7 separate regions of the Homo sapiens genome follow, and all the other regions are linked to region 5. Evidence: promoter capture Hi-C in 16 types of primary human blood cells and fetal thymus (Javierre and others, 2016). All regions are on one chromosome and are shown on one strand. The core of a region is centred on a gene start or on the middle of the fragment in contact, and the rest is flanking DNA. Distances in the headings are between cores, read along the strand shown.

The links. The method cuts DNA at HindIII sites, captures the fragments that hold promoters and counts their contacts. A CHiCAGO score of 5 or more calls a contact.
Region 1: a contact is called between the fragment with the promoter of PIK3CA here and the fragment with the promoter of DNAJC19 in region 5, in 3 of 17 cell types (naive CD8 T cells, activated CD4 T cells and total B cells). The highest score is 9.2, in naive CD8 T cells.
Region 2: a fragment that was not itself captured here is called in contact with the fragment with the promoter of DNAJC19 in region 5 in 1 of 17 cell types (total B cells); the score reaches 5.2 in total B cells.
Region 3: a contact is called between a fragment that was not itself captured here and the fragment with the promoter of DNAJC19 in region 5, in 1 of 17 cell types (naive CD8 T cells). The highest score is 7.7, in naive CD8 T cells.
Region 4: a contact is called between a fragment that was not itself captured here and the fragment with the promoter of DNAJC19 in region 5, in 1 of 17 cell types (naive CD8 T cells). The highest score is 6.0, in naive CD8 T cells.
Region 6: a contact is called between the fragment with the promoter of ZNF639 here and the fragment with the promoter of DNAJC19 in region 5, in 3 of 17 cell types (monocytes, naive CD8 T cells and non-activated CD4 T cells). The highest score is 5.6, in monocytes.
Region 7: a fragment that was not itself captured here is called in contact with the fragment with the promoter of DNAJC19 in region 5 in 1 of 17 cell types (total CD4 T cells); the score reaches 6.9 in total CD4 T cells.

The regions. Positions count from the first base shown.
Region 1 is chr3:179,146,506-179,149,792 of GRCh38, forward strand. It overlaps PIK3CA (phosphatidylinositol-4,5-bisphosphate 3-kinase catalytic subunit alpha), which reads left to right and starts at 1,852. Exons shown (of 21, transcript NM_006218.4): 1 at 1,852-2,098. PIK3CA-DT (PIK3CA divergent transcript) reads right to left here and starts at 1,468. Exons shown (of 3, transcript NR_125401.1): 1 at 1,411-1,468. RefSeq lists enhancers at 567-676, 1,287-1,406, 2,216-2,715, 3,277-3,287 and silencers at 1,897-2,366, 2,427-2,476. The HindIII fragment of the contact is 3,906 bases long and covers 1-3,100 here.
Region 2 is chr3:182,679,345-182,682,849 of GRCh38, forward strand. No RefSeq gene overlaps it. Among named protein-coding and RNA genes, the nearest start is that of LINC02031, 37 kb to the left of the region's middle. RefSeq lists silencers at 2,918-2,987, 3,398-3,467 and an enhancer at 3,138-3,187. The HindIII fragment of the contact is 2,704 bases long and covers 831-3,505 here.
Region 3 is chr3:182,800,973-182,804,350 of GRCh38, forward strand. All of the region lies in intron 1 of ATP11B (ATPase phospholipid transporting 11B (putative)), which reads left to right. Among named protein-coding and RNA genes, the nearest start is that of ATP11B, 9.2 kb to the left of the region's middle. RefSeq lists a silencer at 1,449-1,743. The HindIII fragment of the contact is 402 bases long and covers 1,277-1,678 here.
Region 4 is chr3:182,852,751-182,855,993 of GRCh38, forward strand. All of the region lies in intron 10 of ATP11B (ATPase phospholipid transporting 11B (putative)), which reads left to right. Among named protein-coding and RNA genes, the nearest start is that of ATP11B, 61 kb to the left of the region's middle. The HindIII fragment of the contact is 5,370 bases long and covers 1-3,243 here.
Region 5 is chr3:180,987,941-180,991,346 of GRCh38, forward strand. DNAJC19 (DnaJ heat shock protein family (Hsp40) member C19) reads right to left here and starts at 1,796. Exons shown (of 6, transcript NM_145261.4): 1 at 1,660-1,796; 2 at 238-289; 3 at 83-156. The coding sequence starts at 1,662. The HindIII fragment of the contact is 8,604 bases long and covers 1-3,406 here.
Region 6 is chr3:179,321,451-179,324,737 of GRCh38, forward strand. ZNF639 (zinc finger protein 639) reads left to right here and starts at 1,581. Exons shown (of 6, transcript NM_001303426.2): 1 at 1,581-1,841. RefSeq lists silencers at 1,311-1,750, 1,781-1,920 and an enhancer at 2,491-2,540. The HindIII fragment of the contact is 4,241 bases long and covers 1-2,676 here.
Region 7 is chr3:182,819,150-182,822,248 of GRCh38, forward strand. It overlaps ATP11B (ATPase phospholipid transporting 11B (putative)), which reads left to right. Exons shown (of 30, transcript NM_014616.3): 2 at 1,111-1,227. Among named protein-coding and RNA genes, the nearest start is that of ATP11B, 27 kb to the left of the region's middle. The HindIII fragment of the contact is 7,894 bases long and covers 1-3,099 here.

The sequences.
Region 1 (3,287 bases), core at 602-3,101, 1.8 Mb before region 5:
CCTGAAGTCAGAAGTTTGAGACCAGCCTGACCAACATGGTGAAACCCCGTCTCTACTAAGAAATACAAAAATTAGCTGGCATGTTGGCTGGTGCCTGTAATCCCAGCTACTCGGGAGGCTGAGGCAGAAGAATCGCTTGAACCCGGGAGGCAGAGGCTGCAGTGAGCCGAGACTGCACCGCTGAACTCCAGCCTGGGCTACAGAGTGAGACTCTGGCTCAAAAAAATAATAATAATAAATAAATAATAAATTTTATAAGGAAAAATATCCCTAGTATATTTTTCCCCACCAAGGTCTACCTATTAATATCTCATATAACTCTGTGCTTGAAACACAATTTGGGATATATTGCCTTAAAATTTACTTTGACTAGCAATTCAGTGTTCCTTTTTTAAAAAAATCTGTACTCTGGAGTAACAGTGTTCTAAAACTGTTGAAGAACATTGGTTCGAGAAAAACATTTAGAAACACAAACCCCTGGAATGTGAGATGAAAATCCGAGCTAAAGGGAGAAAAAGGACGAAAGAAAGAAAACACAGAAAAGAAAGAAATACAGTCAAGTGAAACTACGACCACAAAGAGGAACAGATCCATCTCATTTACCATTGGGGTATGGACGGACGTGCGGTGTTCGAGAAGACTGTTATTGGTCAGAGTTTTGCTCTAGAGGACAAGTAGGACTGTAACATCTCTAGGATGGGTCACTTCCCAAGCCCTCTATTACTTAAAAATTCAAGGAGGAACCGATGCTGGAGTACTTGTATCTCAGACTTCTAATCACTGCTCCTACGCTTTTCCAATATTACAACAAAAGACCAGTAGGGGGAGAAAAACGCACAGTACCGAACCCTTATCAGTAGTAATCTCAAAAGTCAACAGATTGATTTACTCTCAAGCAAACAGACTTCTAAGGTACGCAGCACCAAGACACTACCTTGAATCAAATCTATAGCCTATATGACATTTCTGAAGTCTCTGTTGGCATTACGCGAAAAATCCCCCACGTCTTCTGAATAGTTAGAATTGAATCCTACAAGCTGCTTCGAATCAGAATTCGATTTAAAAAAAAAAATGAGGGCATAGCAAAAGGTCTCCACGAAGTGAGTCAAAGGACTGCAGAGGGCTGTGACAGTGCATTCCGCCTTCGGGATGGTATACAACTTAAACCATGTCGGCAGAAGAACGCACAGCAACGCTTTGTAAAAAGCATTCTTTCTATTATAGAATCCATAACCACGCTGGTTAGCCACTGACAGCGGCGGTTAGCCACCGCACCTCCTCTCACCCCCGAACTAATCTCGTTTCCTCTATGGGTGTAAAAGTGAAATAACCCACTTGCTCCCAATATTCCTTTCTATATCTCTACCCCAGCTCGCCTGCTGCTCGTAGAAACAAATATACTACACGTACGCTGTCCTAGGATGACACAACACCCTCACTACTGCAGAAGACGGATCATTAAACAAACGTCAGAAGAGCAGCCCCAACTGTACATAAACTTCGGGCGGAAAAGCAAGACGCAGGCGCAGTAGCACATATTGTTACCCTATTTGCCCACTCCCTGCTCCTCCTCGCCTCAATTTCGCTTCCGCTTCTTTGCGCATCTGCTTCCGGGGGATTGTAGGCTCTGCCCCTCCTCAGCTCTTACCCTCTTCTGCCGGAGGAGGGGGGGGGCCGAGGGGGTGGGGAAGAGTTCGTTGTTTGTTTACACGATGTGAGCGGAAAAAGAGACCAATAAAGTTTATTCTGGAAACAAAAGGAAAAAAAAACAGGGGCGACGGAGAAAGGAGTCGGGGGCGGGGGCGTGTGGCGGGGGCTAGCGAGGAGAGGGAGCGAGAAGTAGAAAGCGGCAGTTCCGGTGCCGCCGCTGCGGCCGCTGAGGTGTCGGGCTGCTGCTGCCGCGGCCGCTGGGACTGGGGCTGGGGCCGCCGGCGAGGCAGGGCTCGGGCCCGGCCGGGCAGCTCCGGAGCGGCGGGGGAGAGGGGCCGGGAGGCGGGGGCCGTGCCGCCCGCTCTCCTCTCCCTCGGCGCCGCCGCCGCCGCCCGCGGGGCTGGGACCCGATGCGGTTAGAGCCGCGGAGCCTGGAAGAGCCCCGAGCGTGAGTAGAGCGCGGACTGGCCGGTAGCGGGTGCGGTGGGAATGGGGACCGGGTGGGTGCCGGAGACTCCCGGGCGCGCCCGCCGTGTTGGGCGGAGGCTACGGGCTGGTCGTCTCCCAGCGTCGGCCCGCGGCGGAGTTCGCCTGCGATCGCCGCACCCTCTCCCTCGCCTGCCTCTGGCCTCTCCTAGCTGCAGAGGCGAGGGCTCGCCGCTCCCTCTCCTTTCTCTCTGGCTGCCGCCTCGCTCTTCCTTTGCTTCTACTCCCAGTTTTGGGGACGGGGCGGCTGGAGGTTGAGGAAGTGCGCCCAGGGCCGCCGCCCCGGCCGCGGTGGCTCTGTCTCCCGCGCCCTGCACGCCCACCCAGCCCGCGGGTGGAGGGGCTGCCGCGAGGACTGCGGCTCAAGGGACGCGGGCGCGAAACCGCGAGCTTTTCTTGAGGGGCTGTCACGCCCGAGGACTCCGGCCCCGCCAGCCTGGCGGCCCTGCGTTTGCCTCTTACTGGGTTTAAATCGCCCGGCAGGGGTATGGAAGGAACACCGCTCCCCTCACCCCCGCCAGCTCCCCTCCCACCCTTCCTTTCGAGGTTGTTTTTTCCTTTTAGCTGAGACAAACGCTTAGATCTTTCATTCATAGACCTGAGACACTGACTCATGTGACTTGTCTCTTTACTAAGTGTATTATGTGATGCCTGTTCCATGGCTCTTAAGTGGCTCGGAAAGGTAGGGTAGGGCCCGGGATTGGGCTATGTAAACACCAGACGTTCAGCCGGCGTGTTTTTGACCTCGGCTCGAGGGGTTTATTTTAGGATGCTAAAGGAATAGTGATGGTGGCCAACCGTGTTACCAGACTTGGGAATCGAAAGCTATTTTTTTATGTCAATAATTGAGACTGTTTACATGGTTAAATAAAGGGTAGGGTAAAGGGAGCGCAACAAGAGGGTCTTTCTAGAAAACAGTCTGCATATTCTTTAATGAATTAGAGTTGTGATTTCATCTTGGTGAAGCTTCCTCATTCCAGCACTGCGCCTTTGTGCACATGCAGGACCTGGGTTTTCGGAACGATGTTTTGAATCATAGTTTGTGTGGCCGGGGAGAACCCCTTAGAATACTTGGGTAGGTAAATTCCAGGTTATCTCAGGGGATTATTTCTACTGCGACTTTTGAACCACTGAGGGCAATATTGGTCATA
Region 2 (3,505 bases), core at 933-3,432, 1.7 Mb after region 5:
CACTCTCACTAGCATCTAGACACACTGGCCTTTGCCTAGTCCTCCATCAGCCAAGCTGTCACCTAACTTAGGGCCTGGGGACTGCAGTCTCTCTCCTGACCCAGCTGGTTGCTTTTTTCAGTAAGATCCCAGCGCCTGTGTAACCCACTGAGAAAGGCCTTCCCTACCCAGCACCAATCAGCCTCCCAGCCCAGCTTCACACACTCCAGCATCTCACCTGACATTTTTCTTCACAGCCCTTTTCACCATCTGCAATGGTCAGATTTACATGTGTTGTTATTTAGTGTCTGTCTCCTCCTACTAGAAAGTCAACTCCATGAAAGCACAAACCATGTCTGTCTTGTCCACTACACACGCTTGGCTTCAATAAGTATTTATGGAATGAATCCATGAATGAAAAGTAGGCAGAAAGAAGCATGTCAGTGTTGACTGGAGTTATCCAAGAAAACTCCAGGAACTCAATGGGCCTTGAAGGATAAATAGTAGTAAACTAAAAAGAACCTGATTGAGCTAAGAGCTCTCCTCTTTTTTCTCACTGATATTCCTGGCCTCCTTCAGCATCTTCAAAAGGCAAACGAATAACTCCAAAAGCAATTGCTAAATGCTTATTGAATGGAATAAGTTAATTGTGAAACAATTCCAAGTGACGTATATCATTCTCAGTTGAAGTTATAAGTTTGGGGTTCACTGAGGCTGTTTTTGGTCTAGTCACAAAAGCAACGGTGTCCCAGTTAGAGACTGCCCTATGTCTAGAGTAAAACCAGAAATGAAGCAGAGCCACAAGAAACCCAAAGAGGTCTTGATGTAAGCAAAAAAGTCTACTTCAAGCAAGCTTCTTTCCCACCACTAGGCCTCAAGCCTAACCTAACAAAAAGTACACGGAAAGTGAAATCCTGTTTGCTTTTGTGACTTAAATCCTGTAGCATTGCCTTAGTTTTTAACTTCTGTACCATGCTTTTATTTCTGGTAATATTTATCTTTTTAAAAATAAATCTAAGGCATAATCTCTCTCTCCATTAGATACCTGTTATGGACTGAATTGCATGCCCCCAAAATGAATATGTTGAAGTTCCAACCTCAGTACCTCCAAATCTCACAATATATGGAGATAAAGTCTTTAAAGAGGTCATTAGGTTAAAATCAGATGTTTAAAGGGTGCTTACCCAATATGACTTGGGTCCTCATAAAAAGAAGAAATTTCAACAAAACATGCATGAACAGAGAACAGGCCATCTGAGGACACAGCAAGAAGTTCATCTGCAAGCCAAGCAGAGAGGCCTCAGAATAGACCAAACCTACTGACACCTTCAACTTGGACTTCTAGCCCTCAGAACTGTGAGAAAATACGTTCGTATTGTTTAAGCCATCTTGTCTGCAGTGTTTTGTTATGGCAGCCCTGACAAACCAATAGAATATCCATACTCATAAAGTTTTTCATTGTTGCTGTGTCAAATAATTATACCCATTTCCAACTCATGGTCCCCAAAACTTGTCACTTCAACCAAAACCAGGTGAGATATAAAAGGGAATTACACATTCAGTTGGAAGGAGATACATACAGAAAACCCCTTAAAAACCGGGATCTTTTTTCTATTCATATCTTTCATAATAGTGAATCAGAAAAAGGTAAATTAAAGGTTGTTTGGGAAATTGACAGATCTTTCTTTGGTATGATACCAGGCTCAAGATCCTGTGCTTGTCAGACTAAGACTAAGATTGTACTACCTTTTTACTCCATGTGTTATATCCTGAAAAAAATTCCAAGTCCAGGGAAAAACTTGATAAATAGAAGAATGAAAATGTGCTGTCCAAAATATGTAAAAATACCACAAAACAGATTGTAGAGTATTGTCTATAGCCATTTAACTTGCATGTGTGATAAAGAGTATCATCCAAATATAACCTTATGAAATTTTTTTTAACTTCTAGAAGTCAAAAAGTACCCAAACACACACACATACACACAAACTTATGCTTTGTAGACGGGAGGGAGGTTTGCCATATGTGCGACAAACCGAAGGTTAAATCCTTATTACCTAAAACACAGCTTATAAATTCATAAGAAAAAGATAACTTATCATAATAAATGAATAATATTAAGCAATTCACAAAACAAGAAATTCAAATGTTCTACTAACTTTTTATTCTTTTATTCATTCAATCAATATCTATTGGGCATTTGGTATGTGCTCAGCATAATACAAGACACCAGGTACATGGTGATGAGCAAAAACTGGCCCTTCTCTGTAATTATTCGCAATATAATATTAAACCCAACTTACAATAAAAGAAATTCAAAATAAAATGGTGCCAGGGAATAATCAGACAAGTGTAGAATTGCATACAAAAATATTAATTGAGCTATTATAATAAGGAAAACTTGAAACTACCTTAATGTTTATTAATTCACTGTAAGTTAAATAAATGGATATAGACACTAAATTTGTCCCTAAAAATATGTAATGTCATTGGACAATTCCCACTGCAAAATATGATGGAAAAAAGCATGTGATACTGATGTTTAGATATATGCAAATTTCATATTTTCTACAGTAAAAGTATTATTCTAATAATTAAGGAAAACGCTTTTTAAACAACCAACATGAATGCTTTTGACAGGGATGCCATCGTGTAAGTTAATTGCCAAATAAACTAAATAAACTTTTTTTTTTACTATTATTCTTCAGTTGACAAATAAAAACTGTATAATTTACATTGTATGACATAATGTTTTGAAATATACATAAATATGCTTTCTTGGATGCTCACAATTTGGGTACACTTTGGAGCATACTGGAAAATGCTCCTAACGTTGGAAGCAACACAGTCCCCTTACTTGAGCGATAAAATGTTACTTTGTTCCTTAAATTAAAGAAAGGTTCGAAGTTTAGTTTGACATTCACCTCTGCCTTTATAAAACAAACACAGCCTATAAAATAACTTAAACGCCCAGAGTGCCGAGTTTCGTCGGGCCCTGGCTGCGCCGGGCCGAGCCCTGCCCCGCGGAGGTCGCCGCCCAGCACGGTCTGCAGATGGCAGCCTCTCGCGGAAAGCCCCGCAACGCCGCTTCCTGCCTGGGGGCGGCACTTGGGGCCCGCGCCGGGGTTTCAGAAACCTGTTCGAGCCGTTCCTTTATGGCGGAACGTTCTTATTTAGTAAATATTTATTCCACTCCCCGAGGACCCAGCACTAATCACTGCCACTTCTCTTTAATAATAAATGGTGAACTTCAAATGCGGCAGAACTCAGCCGGCTAATCAGTGCTCGCCGGGAGGTGCAAAACTGTCTGAAGCCCACCGGTGGACATGAAAGACGGAACATTTCCTGTTCCAGCTCTCGGTGGCCCAGAATAAACTTCAGCCGAATGAGAGGATGTCTAGGCGGCCGCCCCCCGCGCGCCGGCCCGGGAGCCCGGGTTCCATCTGCCCGCGGCCCGGAGGTGCGCCCCTGCCCGCTTCGCCCCGGGGACCCTCGGAACCCGCGGCTCTGCCCTCCACACAATCTG
Region 3 (3,378 bases), core at 228-2,727, 1.8 Mb after region 5:
CGTATTGTTAGTAGAGACAGGGTTTCGCCATGTTGGCCAGGCCAGTCTCGAACCCTGGACCTCAGATGATCAATCCACTTCGGCCTCCCAGAGTGCTGGGATTACAGGTGTGACCCATCCCACCAGGCCTTCCTTTGAAATTTTTAGCATGTAGTTTATCCTCCTTAACATTAAGTTATGGCTTATGCAGATAATCATACTTGTTTCTCTTTAAAACTATTAGATTGTCCAAAATTTAGATGAAATACCAAATTAAGGATATTAATTAGTTAAGCTGTGTCTGTCTCCACATTTTAATTGGAAGTGAAGTTCCCCCTCAGGAAAGGAGGAAGAATAGGATGATATGCATAGGTATCAATCATTCATTCATTCACGTACATTTTGGAAAAGTTAGGAACAGAAACAGATGTTGTATATATGTAGCTTATTCTTACTGTGTGAAGCCGGTAAAGCTGGTACAGGTTATTTTTATTCTTTCTTTAAGCATTATGTTATAGAAAATTTCAATCACCTGCAAAAGTAGAGATAATGGTATAATGAGCCCCTTTATGGTATAAAGTTGGGCAAATGGTATAATTTATCCTTTACCCAACTTTTACAGTTATCGGCACATGACCAATCTTGTTTTATCTATTCCCCCCACCCACTATCCTCACTCCCTTTAGTGATTTTGAAGCAAATCCCAGACATTATATAATTTTACCCATAAATATTTCTGTATTTATCTCCAAAATCGCTTCTTCCTTTCCTTCCATTCTCAAATTCTTATTTTTACAAGTGTAGAAATTTTATTTTATGTCAGTTACATCAGTGATTATTAATATAAGTTAATGTAAAACTCTCCCCTTAACTCTTGATTTAATTCAGTTATATTAATAATAAAAGGTACATGCATAATATGTATTGCTAATAAATTTACTAAGAATCTGTCAAATTCTAAGCAGGAGATGTAGTTCTTTAAAAGTCAACTGCTCTTTTTCTATGGATACCTCTGTGGGGAGAAGAAATCAAAGAAAGACACATGAATCAAAAAATGCTTTGCTTCAAAACATCATGTTGTGCACCATAAATATACAGAATTTTTGTCAATTTTTTAAAAAATGCATTTTAAAAAGTGTTTTACTTATAACATGAATACATCTAAGTGTTTGGGGAGCAAATCGTATCTCCCTTTTTGTTGTTGCTAAAAATGATATATCCAGAACCATTTCTCTCGTCTTTCTCTGCCACCACCCTCAACTAAACTACTGCTACCTCTTACCTAGATTATTGCAAAAGCTTCCTAGTTCATCTCATTGTTTCTCCCCTTCTGTCCTTGCAGTCTGTTTTCAATATACCCACCAGAGTGATCTTATTAAACAGGTTAGATCATATAATTCCTCTGCCTAAGATTTTCCAAGTGCTTGCTCTTTTGTTCAGAGTAAAAGCCAAAGTCTCTGCTTGATCTGTATGCCAACCCCTACACTTCTTCCAATCCATTTCTCATCCTCCATCACTATTCTCTCACTCTTTATTCACACTAGCCTTATTGCAATTCAGAAGTCCCAGGCATACTTCAGTTTTAGGAGCTTTGTCCTGACTGTTACTACCTCTACCTGGAATGTTCTTCCTGCAGACATCTGCTGGCTCCTTCGCTCCTTTCAAGTCTTTATTCAAATATTGCGTTATTCATGAGTGAAGCTTTTTCCAGCCATTCAGTATAATGTTCTGACCCTCCCCATTACTTCCCTGTTGCCTTTCCTTGCTTGATTTCTCAGCACTTAATGCTATTTAACCTACTCCAAAACTTGCTAGTCTCATTTATCTCAGGAAGGAAGGGATTTTGTCTGCTTTAGTTTTGTTCTCCATTTAACAAAAGCCATTTCTCAACTCTGCATCCCCTTTTAGGTGACACCATTTCTTTCTCATGTATTGATGAATTGAGTCATTTTCTGTAAGTGAATTAGTTTTCTGTGATAGCATATTTGTTGCTAGGCTTTGGAACTACCAAAATGAAGTAATCCCTGCCCCAGCCAATCTTATGGGGGGTTCTTTTTTTCTAATGTATATTCGGATTGTTGCCAATTTTTTCCTGTTACAAAAAGTGTTACAATGACTATTATTGTTTATTTATTTATTTATTTTGAAGTTAAATACCCAGAAGTGGAATTGCTGGGTCATGGGTCACGTACATTATGACTGTTACTAAATATTGCCAAAGTATTTTCTAAAACAGAGTTCTCCTTTCCCTACATCTTGCTCAACACTTTGTACTGTCAGACTTGAAAAAACGTACCAGTCTGATGGGTGTGAAATAGTGTCTCATTTTGTTCTAATTTGCATTTTCTTGATTGCTGGTGAGATGCAGGTATCCTCAATTTCATTCACATGAATAGATTGCCCGTTTTCCATTGGGTAGTTTGGCCTTTCCTAATTCTTGCTATAGCCTGGATGCCAATTCTTTGTTGTATATGTTGTAAATATCTTCTAGTCTGTTCCGTGTATTTAATTTAGTTTATGGTATCTTTTTTTATACAGAAAGTTTAAATTTATTTGTAGGTAAATTTATTAGACATATGATTTCTGCTTTTTATTACATATTTGACAATTCCTTTGTTATACTAGGATCATAAAGCTGTTTTTCCAGCGTTTTCTTCAAATTGTTTTAAAATTAGTTTTTTAACATTTAGATCTTTAAAGATACCTGGAATCAATTTTTGTATATGGAATAAGGAAGGGAATTTGTTTTCTCCCGTATAGAAAGTTGTGTCAATGCTGTTTATTGAATGAGGCATCCTTCCTCCACGAGTCTGTGTTGTTTGCCTTCTCTGTCATAAGTGACACATTTAGGACACGTACCAGCATTCTCTTTCACATACTCTGTCATATACCAGCATTCTCTTTCATATACCTTGGTCTCATTCTAGATTCTGTATTCCATTTCATTCATTTCTTGGTGCACAAATAATGCTCTGTCTTAATTATAGTATTTTAATGATAAGTCTTGGTATTTGGCAGGCAGAACCCCCACCTTCTTTTTTTTTCTTTTTACAATTATACTGAACTTTATTCTTCCATATGCCACTTACAGTGTTTGTCTAGCTCCATGGAAAATAGTTCTAGATTTTGATTAGCTTTGCATTGAAGTTAAGTTTCTTCATATTTTTTCCCTTTGATGATTATAAGCTATGGATTGTATTTTCATTTTTATTTATTTTTCTAGTTATGCCTATAGTCATTGAGCATCTCTATACATAATCTACAAATAACATAGGAATTTAGATTTCTTTTTTTTTTCTTTTTTTTTCTTTTGAGACAGAGTCTCCCTCTGACCCCCAGGCTGAAGTGCAGTGGCGTGATCTTGGCTCACTGCAAGCTCTGCCTCCAGGGTTCAGGCCA
Region 4 (3,243 bases), core at 172-2,671, 1.9 Mb after region 5:
AACATGGGAGAAAATCTTTGTGACTTTGGGTTAAGTAAAGATTTCTTAGATGGGAAATGTACGGAAAAGGAACCACCAAAATTGATAGCTTAAACTTCATCGAAATGTAAGACTTAAACACTTAAAAAGGCACTGTTTATGTTGTGAAGATGCCAGAAACTAAAACAAAAAATTTAAAAATACAAGCCATAGACCAGAGAAAATGTCTGCAAAGCATATATCTTGTAAAGGACTTGTACCTAGACTATCCAGTCTCACTACTTTTTAACATTATTCTAGAAGCCTCATTCAGTGCAACAAGTTAAAGGAATTAAAAGCCATAAGTACTAGAAAGCACGAAGTAAAATTGTCCTACTGGAAGACACATGATTTTTCATGTAAACAGACATAAGTATTCAATAAGAAAACTATAATAAGCAAGTTGGTCTCAGAATACAAGGTAAATAAAGAGAAACCTTTTTTATTTTTATTTTTTTGAGACAGAGTCTCACTCTGTCACCAGGCTGGAGTGCAGTGGTGCGATCTCGGCTCTCTGCAACCTCCGCCTCCCGGGTTCAAGCGATTCTTTTGCCTCAGCCTCCCGAGTGGCTGGGACCACAGGTGCGCGCCACAACACCCAGCTCATTTTTGTATTTTTTAGTAGAGACAGGGTTTCACCATGTTGGCCAGGATGTCTTGATCTCTTGACCTCTTGATCCGCCTACCTCGGCCTCCCTGCAGGTGTGAGCCACTGTGCCCGGCCAATAAATCATTTTTATATCTTATAATAGTAAGAAACAGTTAAGAAAATGAAATTTTTAAAAGGTTATATTTACAGTAGTATCAAAAAGCGTAATATATTTAGGAATAAGTTTTTTTTTAACTTGTGCAAGATTTATATAATGAAAATTACAAAACATGGCAAGATAAATTAAGAACTAAATAAATGGAGAAATCACATTAATAGATTGTCAAGCTCAGTATTGTTAAGCTGTCAGTTACTGTGTAGATTCCCTCAGTCTCAAAATCACAGCAATCTTTTTGTAGTAATTGACAAGGTAATACTAAAGTGTATATTGAAATGCAATAGCCAAAATGCATATTCAGATGCACAGCAAAAACAATCTCTTAAGAAAGCTAAAAGATTTACCTTACCTGATTTAAATACTTAATATAAAGCTACAGTAATTACAGTATGGTATTAACAAAGATGATAGTTCAATAGAATAAAATAGAGAGTTGAGAAGTAGACCATTCATGTGTGGGTTTGTTGATTTTCAACCAAGTAACAAGTCAATTCAATGAAAAATTTAGTATTTTCTACAAATGATGCAGCAATTGGATATTCAAATGAGAAAAACATGAAACTTAGCTTCTGCCTTATGCTGTACTCCAAAAAGTTTTGAAAACAAGTCATAGACCTAAATATAAAAGCTAAAATTACAAAACTTTTAGAAGAGCTGGGCGCGGTGGCTCACACCAGTAATCCCAGCACTTTGGGAGGCCGAGACGGGCAGATCACCTGAGGTCGGGAGTCCGAGACCAGCCTGACCAACATGGAGAAACCCTGTCTCTACTAAAAATACAAAAATTAGCCGGGCATGGTGGTGCATGCTTGTAATCCCAGCTACTTGGGAGGCTGAGGCAGGAGAATCACTTGAACCCTGGAGGCGGAGGTTGTGGTGAGATGAGATCGTGCCATTGCACTCCAGCCTGGGCAACAAGAGCGAAACTCCATCTAAAAAAACAAAACAAAACAAAACAAAACAAAAAATACTTTTAGAAGAAAACTTAGAAAGATATCTTTATGACTTAGAGTAGGTAAAGATTTCTTAGGATACAACAAATATAATAATTAAAAATTGATAAATTACACTTTCTCAAAACTAAAAACTTCTGCTCATCAGGCTAAACATTTAAAGAAATGAACATACACGTTACAAACTGGGAGACAATATTTGCAAAACATGTATCTGACCAAAGACTTGTATCCTGAGTATATAATATATATGTGCATGTGTTTACACACACACACACACACACACACACACACACACACACACACACACACCTGCCTACAAGTCAACAATGAAAAGAGAAGCTAATTAAAAAAAATGGGCAAAAGGTGGAAGGTAACCACCTTTTGTCATCTTTTCAGCTGAAAATTACAAAACACTGAGGAAAGAAATCAAAGATCTAAATAAATGGAACAATATATCATGTTCATGGGTTGAAAGATTCGTACGGTAAAGATGCCAGATTTCCCAAATCGATTAATAGGTATAATGCAATTTCTATAAAAATCTCAGCAAGTTTTTTTGTAGAAGTAGAAAATTTATTCTGAAATTTAGATAGAAAAGCAAAGGAACAGTTTTGAAAATGAAAAATAAAGTGAGAAGAATTGCTATTGATGTTAAGTGTTACTATATAAGCTACAGTAATCAAGACAATTTGGTGTTGGTTAAAGAATAGATACATAGATCAGTGTTACACAATAGAGAACCCCAGAACAGACCAACACTAATAGGCCCAATTGATTTTTGGCAACAGCACAAAAGCAATACAATAGAGGAAGTGTAATCTTTTTCAACAAATGGTGCTAGAACAATTGGATACCCATAGCAAAACAAACAAACCCAAACCCCCACTGTATGTAAAAATTAATTCAATTAGAGTATAGATTTAATGTAAAACAAACTTTTAGAAGAAAACAGAATCTTCAGGACTTAGTGTTAGACAAAGAGCTAGAAGACATGACACTAAAAGCATAATTCCTAAATCAAAAAAATTAATAAGTTGTAGTTAATCAAAGTTAAACACTTTGGTGCTGTGAAAGACCCTCTTAAAAGGATGAAAAGACAAGCTACAGACTGGGGAAAAATACTTGCAAACCACAAATCTTCCAGAGGCTTTATGTTTAGAAACATAAAGAACTCTCAAACTCAATAGTAATTCAGTGATCCAATTAGAAAATGAGCAAAAGGCATACTTCATATTTCACCACATGCATAATACATATTTCACCAGAGAAAAGCTGCAGATTACAAATAAGCACATGAAAAGATATTCAGCATCATTACCTGTTAGAGAGAAGCAAATTAGAACCACATTGGGATATCACCACACCCATTAGAATAGTTAAAATAGTGATAATACCAAATGGCTAGGAGGTGGAGAGACTGAATCTCTTATATGTTGTTGGTGGGAATTAAAAATAGTATACCCACTCTGGAAGATAGTTTGGGAGTTTCTTACAAAACTAAA
Region 5 (3,406 bases), core at 546-3,045:
CATGGATATTTGGAAATTTACCCTTCCCTAAGTGTGGCTCTAGGTTTCAAATAGAAGCAGCAAAGAATTAACAAAGTCTTACAGATTTTGGTAGGCTTTGAAAAACTTGTTTTACTTGAGGCTCCATATGCTTCATGGCTTGCAAAACGTAACGGCCTAAAACCAAAAGCAACAGAATAAGTAAACTAAATCTCCAATCTCCCCGACTTCACTTCCATCCCCAAACCATAAACAAACCTGCAAATCCTGCAGCAGCAATGGTCAGTCCAACTGCTACCACTGTACTGGCCTGGTAAGGGGGAGAAGAGTAAATATTTACTTCTCTAATTCCCACCCTTTCTCATTTTGCCCATTCTTCCATCCCCAACTCATTACAAACTGCATTTTAATAGGAGAAACAACTTTTTTTTTTCTTTTTTTTTTTTTTTTTTTAAGAGACGGAGTCTTGCTATGTTGCTTAGGCTGGTCTTGAACTCCTGGCCTCAAGCAATCCTCCCACCTTGGCCTCCCAAAGTGCTAAGATTATAGGCATAAGCCACCATGCCTGGCAGAGAAACAACTTTTAAGGCGGAAATATTCTGTCCAGTAATCTTTAAAACTACTGCATCTGTTATGCTGAATGCATTAAAGTTACAGGATTCATCATATGGGAAAGAGGGCAAGTTCGACTTGCTTATTTATCTTTACAATAGTGAAAAAGATGATTCCCTCCCTTTGAAAACTTCTTTCATCACCAGACAAATTAAGTCACATTAAAGTTCAATCAAAAGTAGTGGAAATAGGCCAGGCGCGGTGGCTCACGCCTGTAATTCCAGCATTTTGGGAGGCGAGGCGGGCGTATCACTAGGTCGGGAGATCGAGACCATCCTGGCTACCATGGTGAAACCCCGTCTCTACTAAAAATACAAAAAAAAAAAAAATTAGCTGGGCGTGGTGGTGGGCGCCTGTAATCCCAGCTACTTGGGAGGCTGAGGCAGGAGAATGGCGAACCCGGGAGGCGGAGCTTGTAGTGAGCCAAGATTGTGCCACTGCACTCCAGCCTAGGCGACCGAGCAAGACTCTGTCTCAAAAAAAAAAAAAAAAATGTGGAAATAAGGTTTCTGCTACAGAAGGAAAAACTGTTTACAGACGGCTCCTGTAAAATTCTAACAACGCATTTTCGAGGCTAAACGTGGGCTAAACTAGGAGACTAATACCTTTGGCACTGCCCTGTTGTTTCCTAACAAGACAGGCCCAAATATGTTCAGGAAGCATGGAGAAGACATCTGTCAGCAAAAGCCAAAGAGAAGGACATAGCAAAGTGGAGCTAGTGCTGTGAAGATGTGTTAGGGCAAGGGCACTTATAATCAAATACGTTTCCACTAATCTCCGAGTCCATGACAGCCTCTGACCTTACAGGAGTTCCAGGCAAGCAACACCTGCAGAGCCCGTGCGGACAAGAAGCTGGAGAACCGTGCAGAAAGACGATGTAAAAACACAAACCCCCAAGAGAGCGAGCCAACAGGGTTGTGTCCTGGTGAGTGTGACTCCCCAATAACCGAAACCTCCCGCCCGCAGTCGCACTAAGGAGCACAACTTCAACTCCACACCTCCGAGGCGGGGAGCTGAGGTTGAGGCCTGGGCCGGAGGTCGCCAAGAAGACCGGAAGGCCGCACTCACCATGGCTCCGGCTGGGCTCCCTTGCTTCCACCGGGAGCACGGCTCATCCCAGCTCAGAGGCCGCGGCCAACACCTGCACGCCTTTACCAGAGAGCGACGCAACCCCCAACCTCAAGCACAGGCGCCCTACGCAACACGGCAGGAGCAGCCGCAAACTAGGCCGGAAAACTGTCGTAAAAGGGGACGCGGAGGAGAAGGAAAGTCGCTCAAGCAGTGGACAGAGCGGAGAAAGCGACTTCGGGTTGGTTGAAGGGTGGGCGGATCTCTTTATTTCTGGGTGTAGGGGTGGGGCTTCTCTGTGTTTTCTGTCCTTTGCTCCTGGGCGGTGGGTATTTGGAAATTCTTGCAGGGAAGGGCATGGGCAGCCTTACTCAGACCGATTTTTTCCCCCTACATCTTAGCACCTCGTTTTGCCTTTATTTTATGTTAATAATTGTCAAGGGTAATGAATGTAGTTAAACATGCTGTGACATTTCCACCACGAACCCAAACAAATATGTTGTAACCCAGTGTAGGAAACGAGATGCCCAGAAAAACAAATGAAACCAACCACACTGTGTTTCAGGGATTGCTCGGTAGCATTTTTTAATGTAAAAGAACTTCATTTAAGGATGTGACTTGACAAGACTTTGTGAATATTTGGGTTTTCGTTTTGTAGAATGGGATTAAAGACAGTTCATATTCTGAACATGGAATGTCAAGATCCTACAACTGAAAAGGGCTATTTAAAAGTTTTCCTCCTCACCCAAAATAAAAAGTAGGGCTGGATTTTGCCCTTACGTGGACATCAGTTTCATACATCCCTACATAAATGCTTGAGAAGAAAAAAATAATGGAGACAATAATGGAATTTTACAATGCAACGTTTGCATGATCAAAATAAGTTTGGAGTTACTTCCCACTCAGAATTTACAGTGTTAAATATCCGTTTACATTGCAATGCAATTCTGCTTTGATGAGTTTGTTAGTTATTAAACAAATATGCAAAATTTTTGGGTTTGTTTTCCTCATCTGTAAAAGCAGTTTGCATTTGATAATCCAAGAGCTCTTCTAGCGCTAAGGTTTTTGTGATGTAATTTATTGTCAACACATGATTTAAGGTGACATCCAGCACTAAGACACTAGCATTAAGTTTATAACTTCCTCTTTTGCCTCTCTTTTATCTGGTTTTTACCCAACAATTACAAAATAAATAATCAAGTGAGGCATAAGACCTTGGGACCAAATTGGCATCAACAAGCTAGAATGCTATCTGGAAAAATTTATTATGCATATTTTTGGTATGTACAAACTGTGTAATGCAGTTTCTGGAGGAATAGATTTACAGTAGACTCTAATTAGCTTTGAGACTTTACAAAACCCAGACTCAGGAAATTGGGAGTAGCAACACAGCAAGACATTTTGTTGAGCTGGAGATAGCTCTTTTTTTGGTGGCAGATCAAACTGGAGGTAACCTGGCTCTGTCACTTACTAATACTGTGACTTGGAAAAGTTATTTCTGATTGAGTTTCTTCCTCATTTGTAAAATGAAGGTAATGATAACTACCTTGCCGAGTTTTTGTGAACGTAGAGATTATGCACATATTGTGTTCTGCTTATGGTCATCACTCAGTGTGGGGCTATTATTATGAGGGAAGCCAGAGTGCAAATTGGAGTGTAGAAGCCTTCCTCATTCTCATGATACCTCACTCATGAATCTTAAGTCTGGTTGCCTCTTACCTACCTGCCAAGATCCTAGAAACAGCCT
Region 6 (3,287 bases), core at 331-2,830, 1.7 Mb before region 5:
TTGAGATTTTAGGGTTTTATCCCAGCTATCACCCTCCCTTGGAGCGGGAGATGAGGAAAAGAGGGACCCAAAAATGAAACTGAAAAACACTCCAGCTAATCAAGAACTTGAAATTGCTTGCAATTTGTGACTATGTTAAACAACATCTAAACAAAGTCAAGCTCCTCTAAGTGCAAACAATACGTGGGATGCTGGGGAGAGTGTGCGTTTACTTTCACTACAAAATGTTTTGGAGTAAAACTTCATTTTGAAATATAAAGATTTTGTTGGACACAAGGCTATGTGGTAAGGCAAAATGGTAAGATGGTGGCATGACACCCCCTTGTGGTTTCCACCGATTCCCGGTTCTGTGCTAGATACTAACTATTCTAGGATTTAAAAATGTCTCTACATTTCTTCGAACTTTAATTCGGGCCATACTAGCATTCGTGAGCATTTATTTGAGCTGAGTACGCACATAAAACTTAGGAGGTCATAAAAACTGAGCCTCACAAACAAGTAGTGTCTCTTTCAAATATAGCTTTATCTCCTGGGGGATGGTGAAGGGATCAGAGTAAAGTCTGTGATTATTACTTTCCAGCGATTGATTGGTTGATTGGCATGTGGTTGTCAGAAAAAGCAGTGGACGTGAACAAAGAGACATCATTGCAGCCCTAACTATCCGAGTGACCTTGGGTACCTGATAATCCACATGGCTCTCAGTCATCCTCTTAACCGTTTGAACCTCAGGGGTTTAGGCTACCAAAATGAATTAAGACCCAGTCTTTAGCTTCTCACACATTTACTTTTCCATTTTGTAAAATGTGACTAAAAACCTCAACTCATTGTCAAAAGGACTGAATTAAACATATCACCACACTTGCACAGAGATCATTTATGGAACCATGTTCACAAATTTATTTATGCTCGTGTAATTTAATCATTTCTACAGCTGCTCAAAGAAAGTCAAAGTCGAGAAAGGACTTAAATCGTCGAGTCCAGTCCCCCTTAACTCCTCATTCATTCCACTATTTCTCGAGCCAAGGAATCGGGTGAAACTCAACAACGACTCGCAGTCTTCAGGTTTCACCCTCTTGCCCTGAGGGCAGCATCCTAGCCCTAGGTGGTTCTCTGGTGTGGCCTCAGTAAAACCGTGACGAGGTCCTCGGCCTCTCTGTCCCCAACAGGCGGCTGGCACACTTCGGGGTCTGAGATGCCATCTGCCTTGCCTAACCTGGGCAAGACCACTCGCGTCCTTTCCCTTGAGGAGCAGCGTGGGAAAGGTGCCGCTGCGCGCCACGTTTCTCCCAGTTCCCCAGGGCTTGAAGGGGCGGTGGAGGCGGGCGGGATAAATTCGCTGGCCGCCTGGCGTGGAGTAATCCTAGAGGGTGGGATCGCCCTCGGGGCTCGGGAGGGGCTCTTCCCCGCCCAGAAGGAGACTGCGGCGGCGCAAGGCCTCCGGCAGGGGGCGCGGGCCGCTGGGCCTCCCCCGGGGCTGCGGGCCGGTGGTCCCTCCCAGGCCGCGTGTGCGGTGCGTTCGCGCAGCCCGCTCCCTGCCCCCACCTCACCTCGTCACCTCCCCGCCCTCTCGGCGGGCCCCTGAGGTGCGCGGCGCAGGCGCGGAGCGTGGCGGCCAGGGCAGTGCGGCCGCGGAGCCTAGGCCAGGGGCCTGGCGCTCAGGGCGTGGGGCGCGCGGGGAGGGAGAGGGGTCGGCCCAGCACAGCGTCCGGGAGCGCTAGGGCCGGAGCAGCGCTGCCCGCCGCCGTGCGTCCGCGGGAAGGACCGCGCGGCCCCTCCGCCTGCGCTCTCGGCCGCCGCCGCCTCTGCGTGGGCCGGCCGGGAGGGCCTCGGGGGACTGACTGGTGAGTGTGAGGGAGGAGCGGGTGGGTCGGGCGCTGGACTGCTCCAGGGGACGCGGGCGTGCGGGCGCATCTTCTAACGGGAGAGGGCGGGAGAGACCGGAGCTCCCTTTATACGGAAACTCTGCCTTCGTTATATGGCGGGATGGCGTTCCCCTCCCCCATCCCGAAGGCAGTTCCACCCCCTGCGCAGGACGCCTTGGCCGGGCTCCCCTCGGCCCCCTGCTGCCGTTGTCTTTACGGAACCTTTGGTGTCGGGGCTTGGAAGTCTCCTTGGCGCCGGCTTCTGGGCCCGGGCGAAGCTGGTGCGTGGCGCCGGGGTGGAGGCGGCTAAGTCCCAGGGACTTCTGCCCTGCGCCTCCGACGGGCATTTGTCTGGCTGCGTCCGGGCTCGGGACGATCCTGGGTCCTCGCTGGCGCTGCGGCCCTGCCCGGCGGCTTCGTGACCTCCGGCGGCGAATCCCCGGGCTCGCGCAACGAGTTGTAGCCGCGGAGAGCAGGCGTCGATGCTGGCGCCCAAAGCCTCCAGCCTGAGAGTCGCCTCACTCGTGTGACGGTGCTTAGAAACCCCCTTTTTTGGTTTTGTCTTTAAGTACTGTCTAGGGAAACGAATCATTTGAAGCAGTTTATGCCTTTTTTGTTTTTTTCGAAGAGAAAGATTTATGCCGGACTGAAAAATAGCGAATCAAGTATTTAGTGACCGTGTGATATTGCAGTAAAGACTGCCTCCACGTTGGACATGTAGTGGATTCTAGTTCAGGCTCTCCTGCAACATGTTTTTGTTTCAATTCTTTTACAATTTAAAGCATATGCTTATTTTAATGAGAACGAAAAAGAAAGCTTAACTCTTTTTAAACTCGTTAAAAATGGAGTTATTTACTGTAAAGACGTCTTACAGCAATTAGGAAGAATATACATTGCATGAAAGGCCTTTTGAAACGTTTATCTATTTGATGATTGCTGACTGCCTGTTGTATGTATTCTATTTTGTGCATAGACTTTCTTGTTGGTTGAAAAAAATGACAGGTGGAAAGATGTTGGTTTCTAGGTGATATAAAAAATTTTTAAACATTTTTCTGATTTTTCTGCAGTGACACGTGTTACATATGTCGTTTGTATTTCAGAGGGAGGGGGGACTGTGATAGGTTGCTTGTGATTCAGAATCTTCCTGCTAAGAAGACTAGTGAGCAAATGTTTATGACATCCTTGAGTAGAAAGCTAAGTTTTTTCAAGGCTGTTATGCACACAAAAGGCACATAAAAATGATTGCTAAAATGAAGGATGGTTAGCATTTTTGGTCTTGAGTAGGCATCACCATTGTGCTGAAAGGAAGTCCGATAGACATTTGGTTATCGTTCGGCCCTAAGTAGGAGTCAGACCCTTCCTGATCCGTGTGCCTCCTCCTCTCACCTAACAGCCTGAATCCAGGCCAGCTTGCAACGTTGATTT
Region 7 (3,099 bases), core at 258-2,757, 1.8 Mb after region 5:
CACTGCAAGCTCCGCCTCCCGGGTTCCCGCCATTCTCCTGCTCAGAGTAGCTGGGACTACAGGCGCCCGCCACCACGCCCGGCTAATTTTTTTTGTATTTTTTAGTAGAGACGGGGTTTCACCATGTTGGCCAGGATGGTCTCGATCTCCTGAGCTCGTGATCCGCCCGCCTCAGCCTCCCAAAGTGCTAGGATTACAGGCATAAGCCAGCGCGCCCGGCGTCTTTTTTCTAATATTTCAAAACCCTAGACAATATGCCGAATGTTAAAGTGTCTTGAAGGTTCACTTGCAACTGTGGAAGTGGAAATACAGTCCTCTAAGAATAAAGTTTCAGTGTTCTTGTTACCCGTGAAATCTTTTCTACCAGAGGTGATTACTAATATGCCTTGACAGATGGTCTTCTCAATCTGAGGTCAGGATATGAGTTCCCAAAGGCCAGGAATTACAGCATATTCATATCTCTATTTCAGTAAGTCAATTGATACTATAATGGCTCAAATAAGTGATTGTGTGGAATGAGTCTGGGCAAGACCCTACCTAATGCACTGTAAGTCATCTGGGAACAAAGCTCTTTGCAACCAAGTCAGTCTGGGGATGGAAAAAGTAAAATAAATATAAACCTTTGCCATCAGATGTGGTAGGTGCTTATTAGGCTGTAGCTACACAGGACTTCCACATCACTGAGTAGAAATCCATCCATAGAAATGAAAGGGAAGGAATGCAGTAGGGATAGAAAATTTGTCCTCAAATACTTCTATAGGTCTCCCATATGATTTTTTTTCAATATAGTAGTATTTCTGACAGAGAATGAACTGTTTTTCATTACTAAAGGCATTACCTAGTTAAGTTTCTATCTGGAGATAATGTACCTGTTTACCTGTGAAAGAAAAAAAAATAGTAAAGTTTCTATCTGGAGATAATGTACCTGTTTACCTGTGAAAGAAAAAAAATAGGTGGCATAGCTCTTCTAATTAGATGGATTGAGTCTATATGCATTTTAAGGGCAATAGTAATATATGTAATCTGACCAGCTAAATAAAGCTAACAGTAAAGTATCATAACTAACCTGGTTGACTAGTATTTCTTTTTCTCTTGCTTGATTGGTCTTAGGGTTTTGACCCACCACATCAGAGTGACACAAGAACCATCTACGTAGCCAACAGGTTTCCTCAGAATGGCCTTTACACACCTCAGAAATTTATAGATAACAGGATCATTTCATCTAAGGTAAGAATTAAAATTTTTATTGTTAGGCCAGGTGCAGTGGCTCATACCCATCATCCCAGCACTTTGGGAGGCCAAGGCGAGAGGATCGGTTAAGCCCAGGAGTTTGCGACCAGTGTGGGCAACATAATGAGACCTTGTCTCTGCAAAAAATCAAAAAATTAGCCAGGTGTGGTGGCACACCTCTACTGACAGCTACTCTGGAGGCTGGCTTCAGCCTGGGAAGTCGAGGGTGCAGTGAGCTGTGATTGTGCCACTGCACTCCAACCTGGGCAACAGAGTGAGACCATGTCTCAAAAAAAAAAATTATTATTAAAACTGTAGATATGGATCATTTTATTTTTAAAAGTGATTATATGTGTGTGTGTGTATTTATTTATATCCTTACAAATTCAAGAAAACGGTGGTCGATTTATCTTAACCAAAATGGTTAACTGTAGAATACAAGGAGTGGCTAATTGCTGATATCAGTAGCCCACATGCCAAAAAATTATCTTTAGTTGCTAGTAAACTAAGGAACTAATATTTATGCTATGTACCAGAAACTATATTAAGTACTTCTCATATCATTTAATCCTTACAACAACCCTATGAGATAGCTTTTATGAAATCTATTTTACAAAGCAGTGTTATACTGATTTTAAATCAGTTTCCTCAATTGAAGTCCTAGGAAATGGAATAATTTTCCCAAGGTTGCTCACTAGTAAATGGCTAGATTGGATTTTTGGGGTTTTTTTTGTTTGCTTGTTTTTTTGAGACAGAGTCTCGCTGTGTCACCCAGGCTGGAATGCAGTGGTGCAATCTTGGCCCATTGCAACCTCTGCCTCTCGGGTTCAAGCCATTCTCTGCCTCAGCCTCCCAAGTAGCTGGGATTACAGGTACCTGCTACCATGCCCAGCTAATTTTTGTATGATTAGTGGAGATGGGATTTCACCACCTTGGCCAGGCTGGTCTTGAACTCCAGACCTCATGATCCACCCACCTCGGCCTCCCAAAGTGCTGGGATTACAGGTATGAGCCACTGCACCCGGCCATAGATTGGAATTTAAACTCAGTTCTGTGTTGCTTTAAAGTCTGCTTCCTCCAATTTTATCACTCATTTGTACACATTTTATGGTGCCAAAGTACAGCTTCACTCTTATATATTCTTCCTTGTTTCATTTTTTCCTGTGGCATTTTTAAGTTGTCTTAGGTTATTCTGAAGCTAAAGACTGTAGAATAGTACTTTGCAGTAGACTTTTCTGTCATGATGGAATTGTCCCATATGATGGCCAATAAATTATACAAGGTTATCAAGGCCTTGAAATATGGCTAGTGCACTCAGAAACTGAAGTTTAATTTAATTTTTATTTAAATGTCAGTAGCTACATGTGACTAGTGGCTTGGACGGTACAGTTATAGAGGATATGAGTCAAAGAGACTGAGGGTAAAGTTTTCCTTATATCATAACTATTGCCTGAAAGGGCACCTTAAGAAGCATCTTTGCATTGCTCCTTCCCTCTCTTCTAAAGCAACTAACATCTTTTCTCTAATCCTAACCTCGTCTTTCCCAAGGATGTTGTCTTAGGTCAGCAGTTCTTTGCCCTGCCCCATGTTGCTGCCTTCACATTCTTTATGTGTATAACATACCCTTAGTGCCATCTCTCGTTTTGGATGATGGTTCTAAAGCAGAAAGTAGGAAGAGGAGATGTCAGAATCCAGGATAATGGATGAGCTTTAGATTAGTGACACAGTTCTTTTTTTTTTTTTTAAATTATTATTATACTTTAAGTTCTAGGGTACATGTGCACAGCGTGCAGGTTTGTTACATATGTATACATGTGCCATATTGGTGTGCTTCACCCATTAACTCGTCATTTACATTAGGTATATCTC